Regions from separate parts of the Homo sapiens genome. Here region 1 is linked to region 2. The links are contacts of gene promoters, found by promoter capture Hi-C in blood cells and fetal thymus (Javierre and others, 2016). All regions are on one chromosome and are shown on one strand. Each heading gives the region's core, a stretch centred on a gene start or on the middle of the fragment in contact. The rest is flanking DNA. Distances are from core to core; before and after follow the strand shown.

Region 1 (3,379 bases), core at 597-3,096, 310 kb after region 2:
TGTGTCAGTTTGGAGTGGAAAAGGCAGACCCAGTACAACATAAAAAGGAATTGTTGGACCTCCAAAATTCTAGCAGGAAGCAGGCTGAGAAAACAGATGCTACCTTTTCTTTAAAAAAAAAAAAAAAAAGTCCGGGCACAGTGGCTCACACCTGTAATCCCAGCACTTTGGGAGGCTGAAGAGGGCAGATCGCTTGAGGTCAAGAGCTCAAGACCAGCCTGGCCAACATGGTGAAACCCCGTCTCTACTAAAAATACAAAAATCACCCAGGCATGGTGGTGGGAGCCTGTAGTCCCAGCTACTCGGGATGCTGAGGCAGGAGAATCACTCGAACCCGGGAGGTGGAGGTTGCAGTGAGCCCGAGATTGCGCCACTACACTCCAGCCTGGGTGACAGAGTGAGACTGTGTCTCCAAAAAAAAAGGATGATTCAGAGGGCAAAAATAAGGAGTCCAGAGGATGGAGCCAAGAGCCATGGAGAATTATTTTTAGCAGGAATGAGACTGAGTTCTAAAATTTGGATTTCAGAATTGCTATGGACCAGTAACACCTGTGTGCCTCCTATTTGCCCCTTTTTTGTGTGTAGAGATTATCTTGTGCCTGTCCCACCATCGTATATTGGGTGATATGGTTTGGCTATTTTCCCAAGCAAATCTTGTCTTGAATTGTAGCTCCCGTAATACCTATATGTTGTGAGAGGGACCCAGTGGGAGATAATTGAATCATGGGGGCAATTTCCCCTATGCTGTTCTGGTGGTAGTGAATAAGTCACATGAGATCTGACGGTTTTATAACGGGTTTCCCCTTTCACTTGGCTCTCATTCTCTCTTTGTCTGTCACCATTTAAGACGTGGATTTACTCCCCCCGCTTGCCTTCCACCATGATTGTAAGGCCTCCCCAGCCCTGTGGAACTGTGAGTCAATTAAACGTCTTTCCTTTGTAAATTACCCAGTCTCAGGTATGTCTTTATTAGCAGCATGAGAACAGACTAATACATTGGGTGTGGGAGGTGGGCAGGTATCTCGTCTCTTTAGCTTCAGAAATCCACAGATCAATTGGAACTGTGCTTAAGGAGCTGTACTTGGGGAACTACACCTGATGTATCTCAACCATACCTGGACCTGATTTAGATGATGGGATTCTGGACTTAGAGCTGATGTTATGAGGTGAGGCTCTGGGGACTCTTGGAGAGTTGTAGATGTATTTGCCATGAGGGAGGGATGTGAATCACTGGGGACCAGAGAGCAGACTATGGTAGGCAGCTTCCTAGGATGGTCTCCAGTGATCTCCACTTCCTGGTATTCAACCTCTTGTGTAATCCCCTCCCCTTAAGTGTGGCCTGGACCTGTTGCTTGCTTTTCATGAATAGAATATGGAAAAAGTGATGGAATATTATTACTGGAAAGGGGTCCCGATCCAGACCCCAAGAGAAGGTTCTTGGATCTCACACAAAAAAAGAGTTCAAAGTGAATTCATAGAGTAAAGTGACAGCAAGCTTATTAAGAAAGTAAAGGAATAAAAGAATGGCTACTCCATAGGCAGAGCAGTGGTGTGGGCTGCTCGACTAAGAACACTTACGGTTCTTTCTTGATTATATGCTAAACAAGGGGTGGATTATTCATGAGTTTTCCAGGAAAGGGGAGGACAATTCCCAGAACTGAGGTTTCCTCCCCTTTTTAGACCATGCAGGGTAACTTCCAGACATTGCTAAGGCATTTGTAAACTGTCATGGCACTGATGGGAATGTCTTCTAGCATGCTAACGCATTATAATTCGTGGATAACGAGCAGTGAGAATGACCAGAGGTCACTTTCATTGCCATCTTGGGTTTGGTAGGTTTTGGCTGGCTTCTTTACTGCAAACTGTTTTATCAGCAAGGTCTTTGTACTTTGTGCTGATCTCCTATGTCATCCTATGACTAAGAATGCCTAACCTCCTGGGAATGCACCCCAATAGGTCTCAGCCTAATTTTACCCAGCCCCTATTCAATATGGAGTCGCTCTGGTTCAAACACCTCTGACAATATTACTTCAAAGATTAAGTTACAAAAGACTGTGGCTTTTTTCTTGCTTACCATCTCTTACCCTCTTTCTTGCTCACTGTAGTGAGGCCAGCAGGCATGTTGTAAACTGCCCAATGGAAAAGCCTATGTAGTAAGGAACCAAGAGAGGCTTCCAGCCAACAGCTTTTGAGGAATTGAAGCTTTAGTCTAATAACCCATGTAGAAACTGGCCAACAACCATGTGAGAGTGCTTGGAAGCTGATCTATCCCTAATCAAGCCTGAAGGTAACTGCAGCCCTGCTGACACCTTGACTGCAACCAGAGCCCAAGGATCCAGCTACGTTATGTCCAGATTCCTGACTCAAAGAATCTATGAGCTAATAAACGTAGGGGTTTTAAGCCACTAAGCTCTGGAGCAATTCGTTATGCAGCAACAGAGTGTGTAATAATTACCCTCAAACATAGCAGCTTAAAATAACAAGCATTTATTACCTCAGTTTCTGAGGATCAGGAATCCACCTGCAGCTTAGCTGGGTGGTTCTGGCTCAGAGTGTCTCACGAGGGTGTAGTCAAGCTATCCGCCTGAGCTGCAACATCTCAAGGCCTGACTGAGGCTGGAGAATCCACTTCCAAGCTCACTGTATGGTTGTTGGGAGGCCAGACACTCAGTTCTTTCCATATAGGTTTCTCCACAGGGCTACCTCACAACATAGCAACTGGCTTCCCCCAGAGCAAGTGGTCAGAGAGAGATCTCAAGACTGGCTGTCGTCTTTTTGTAATCTATTCTCAGACGTGACATGCTATCACTCTTGCCTATGATGTTGGACACACAGATTAAACTTAGTGTAACATGGGAGGGGACTACACAAGATTGTAAATACTAGGTGTCAGGGATTATTGGGGGCCATCTTGAAGGCTCATTACCAACTTCCTGTGTCCATTTCTCTTCTTCCCATTAGTTTTATCTAAGAATAGGCCAACCTGTCAGAGATTACGTTCTCTGGACTCCTTTTTAGCTAGATTGGTAGTGTGACTACATTCTGACTAAAGGCACACATATGGAATAAAGTCATGTGACTTTGGGGTTATGCCCTTAAAAAGGATTTTGTTTCTCTCCCCCATTTTTCTCTCATACCATGGGCTGGAACATAGGTATAGTGAGACTATGCAGGTAACACCCTAAGGGATGGCTACGAAAACAAAAAAGAATTTGGCTCCTTGAATTAACTCATAGGTTGCAGCAGCCTACATCACTTGGACATCCTGCCAGCTTTGGATTTTCAGAGAAATAAACCTATCTTATGTAAGTTCCTATACTTAATCATTTTTAGGTAGTTGAATCTCCTAAAAAAAACACTACAATCAGCCCACTATTGA
Region 2 (3,287 bases), core at 475-2,974:
TCGGGCCATGCTGTCCCGTCCTCTCCACCTGGATAGGGAGAAGCAGGGGTATGACCATGTCTCTCTTCAGGATGTTCAACCAGGAATGCAAAATAAAATTACATGGATCCCTTGCAGGCTGCAGTGGCTCACACCTATAATCCCAGCACTTTGGGAGGCTGAGGCGGGTGGGTCATTTGAGGTCAGGAGTTCAAGACAAGCCTGGCCAACATGGTGAAAACCTGTCTCTACTAAAAATACAAAAATTAGCTAGGCGTGGTGGTGCATGCCTGTAGCCCCAGCTGCTTGGGAGGCTGAGGCAGGAGAATTACTTGAACCAGGGAGGCAAGGCTGCAGTGAGCTGAGATCAGGCCACTGCACTCCAGCCTAGGCAACAGAGCAAGACGCCGTCTCAAAGAAAAAAAAGATTTACATGGGTCCCGTTCCACCTCCTTTGCATGGGAAGGTTGGGGGAGCAGCACTGTAGGATTTCCTGGGCAACCAATGCCCAGGAGGCCAGCCTAAACCATGTCCCCTGCTTTTTGGGGCACTGGCTAGGTTCTGAATGTTGGTGTCTCCCCTAAATTTATATGTTGGAAACCTCATTCCCAAGATGATGGCATTAGGAGGTGGGACCTTTGGGAGGTGACTAGGTCATGAGTGCAGAGCCCTCAAAATTGGGATTAGTGCCCTCAGAAAAGAGGCCCCAGAGAGCTGCCTTTCCCCTGTGAGGACACGGGAACCAGAACTCTGGCCCTCGCCAAACACCTAATCTATTGACACCTTGATCTTGGACCTCCCAGTCTCCAGAACTGTGAGAAACACGTTCTATTGTTTATAAGCCACTCAGTTTATGGTATTTTGCTATAGCAGTTTGAAGGGACTAAGCCAGGACTCCAGCTTTCCTTTCTGGCCTCTGCTGGGAAACAGCTCCTGCTCTGTGGTCACAGTCTTGTGGGCTCCCCGTTCCCTGAGCTCTGAGTGGGCTCAACAAAGTGAAATGTGGAAGAGGAAAAAGAGATCTGGGGCTTGACCAGACTTGTGTGTCCCAGGACATCTGCAGTGACTGCCTTCAGAAAACCTTCCAGGAAGAACGTCAGTCATGCCTTCCGGGAGCTCAGGTCTGAGGCATCTGGTTGTACCACAGCCCTGATGGCAGGGGACTTCAGACTGCTCATGCCGGCCTGGCACTTCCTGATTCGACTTCAGCAAGGCAGGCAATGTTCTAGAACCTGACCTCCGATTTAAACTGAGTTTCTCCTTCCCTTGAGCAAGGAGGACAGTGAATCAGAAGGACGTAGATCCCCTCACTGTATCACTGTGTGTGTATCTACTCACTGTGCGTGCGTGTTCTCACGGCCCCATTGCATTATTTAAAGGGACACTAGTTTATTCGGATGGAGAGCTCAGTCCACCCCACGTCAAGCTTATGAAGCCCATTTCCTGGCCCCCTTCTAGGAATGTCGGGAGGAGGGTGTCGCGTGGGCTTTGAAGTAGGACAGACCTGGGTTTGGGTTTCTGTTCTGCCACTTGTCCTTGGTGACTGAGCCTCAGTCTACTTGGTTGGGAAATAGGACGGTCGGGAGTGAACCCGCCCAGGGTGGGCTTCCAGTCACCCGCACATATGCGGGGCACTGGCCGCCCATCCCTGCCAGGCCCCGAGGATGCCCGCGCTCGTCCTCGGCGTCGCGGGTTGGGCGCGCTCCCGGGCGCATTCCCGGCCGGGCAGCCCCTCCTCCCTCGTCCTTAGCCCAGGGGCCGGCGCCTCCCCGCCTCGCGCGGACTGTCTCGTGCGGGCAGCTGCGGGCGCACCTGGACCCTCGCAAGGCCCGGGCGGCGCCGATCCCCGCGGGACGCGCTGCGCTCGGGGCCTCCCGCCTCCCCCCCTGCCCCAGCCGCCCCCCGGCCGCGCGGCGCCCCGCACCCTGCAGGGACGGCTGCCGCATCGCTGGGACAAACTCGGCAGCGGAGGCAAAGTTATTTCCCCTCCCAGGCAGCGGGATTCCGACTGGCAAGATGGTGCCCAGCTCTCCGCGCGCGCTCTTCCTTCTGCTCCTGATCCTCGCCTGCCCCGAGCCGCGGGCTTCCCAGGTCAGTGTCCCTCCCGCCTCTCTCCAGGCCAGTGTCCCTCCCGCCTCTCTCCAGGCCAGTGTCCCTCCCGCCTCTCTCCAGGCCAGCGTCCCTCCCGCCTCTCTCCCCTGTCCCTCCCGCCTCTCTCCCCTGTCCCTCCCGCCTCTCTCCAGGTCAGTGTCCCTCCCGCCTCTGTCCCCTGTCCCGCGCGCCTCTCTCCACGCCAGTGTCCCTCCCGCCTCTCTCCAGGCCAGCGTCCCTCCCGCCTCTCTCCAGGCCAGCGTCCCTCCCGCCTCTCTCCAGGTCAGCGTCCCTCCCGCCTCTCTCCAGGCCAGCGTCCCTCCCGCCTCTCTCCAGGTCAGCGTCCCTCCCGCCTCTCTCCAGGCCAGTGTCCCTCCCGCCTCTCTCCAGGCCAGCCAGTGTCCCTCCCGCCTCTCTCCACGCCAGTGTCCCTCCCGCCTCTCTCCAGGCCAGTGTCCCTCCCGCCTCTCTCCAGGCCAGTGTCCTTCACGCCTCTCTCCAGGTCAGTGTCCCTCCCGCCTCTCTCCAGGCCAGCGTCCCTCCCGCCTCTCTCCAGGTCAGCGTCCCTCCCGCCTCTCTCCAGGCCAGCGTCCCTCCCGCCTCTCTCCACGCCAGTGTCCCTCCCGCCTCTCTCCAGGTCAGTGTCCCTCCCGCCTCTCTCCAGGCCAGTGTCCCTCCCGCCTCTCTCCAGGCCAGTGTCCCTCACGCCTCTCTCCAGGTCAGTGTCCCTCCCGCCTCTCTCCAGGCTAGTGTCCCTCCCGCCTCTCTCCAGGCCAGCGTCCCTCCCGCCTCTCTCCAGGTCAGCGTCCCTCCCGCCTCTCTCCAGGCCAGCGTCCCTCCCGCCTCTCTCCACGCCAGTGTCCCTCCCGCCTCTCTCCAGGCTAGTGTCCCTCCCGCCTCTCTCCAGGCCAGCGTCCCTCCCGCCTCTCTCCAGGTCAGCGTCCCTCCCGCCTCTCTCCAGGCCAGCGTCCCTCCCGCCTCTCTCCACGCCAGTGTCCCTCCCGCCTCTCTCCAGGTCAGTGTCCCTCCCGCCTCTCTCCACGCCAGTGTCCCTCCCGCCTCTCTCCAGGCCAGTGTCCCTCCCGCCTCTCTCCAGGCCAGTGTCCCTCCCGCCTCTCTCCACGCCAGTGTCCCTCCCGCCTCTCTCCAGGCCAGTGTCCCTCCCGCCTCTCTCCCCTGTCCCGCGCGCCTCTCTCCATGCCAGTGTCCCTCCCGCC

The links. Contacts are between HindIII fragments. The CHiCAGO score rates a contact against its expected background, and 5 or more counts as called.
Region 1: a contact is called between a fragment that was not itself captured here and the fragment with the promoter of FBLN7 in region 2, in 7 of 17 cell types (M1 macrophages, naive CD4 T cells, endothelial precursors and 4 more). The highest score is 7.1, in M1 macrophages.

The regions. Positions count from the first base shown.
Region 1 is chr2:112,449,516-112,452,894 of GRCh38, forward strand. No RefSeq gene overlaps it. Among named protein-coding and RNA genes, the nearest start is that of RGPD8, 18 kb to the left of the region's middle. The HindIII fragment of the contact is 707 bases long and covers 1,494-2,200 here.
Region 2 is chr2:112,136,661-112,139,947 of GRCh38, forward strand. It overlaps FBLN7 (fibulin 7), which reads left to right and starts at 1,725. Exons shown (of 8, transcript NM_153214.3): 1 at 1,725-2,070. The coding sequence starts at 1,996. The HindIII fragment of the contact is 8,502 bases long and covers 1,404-3,287 here.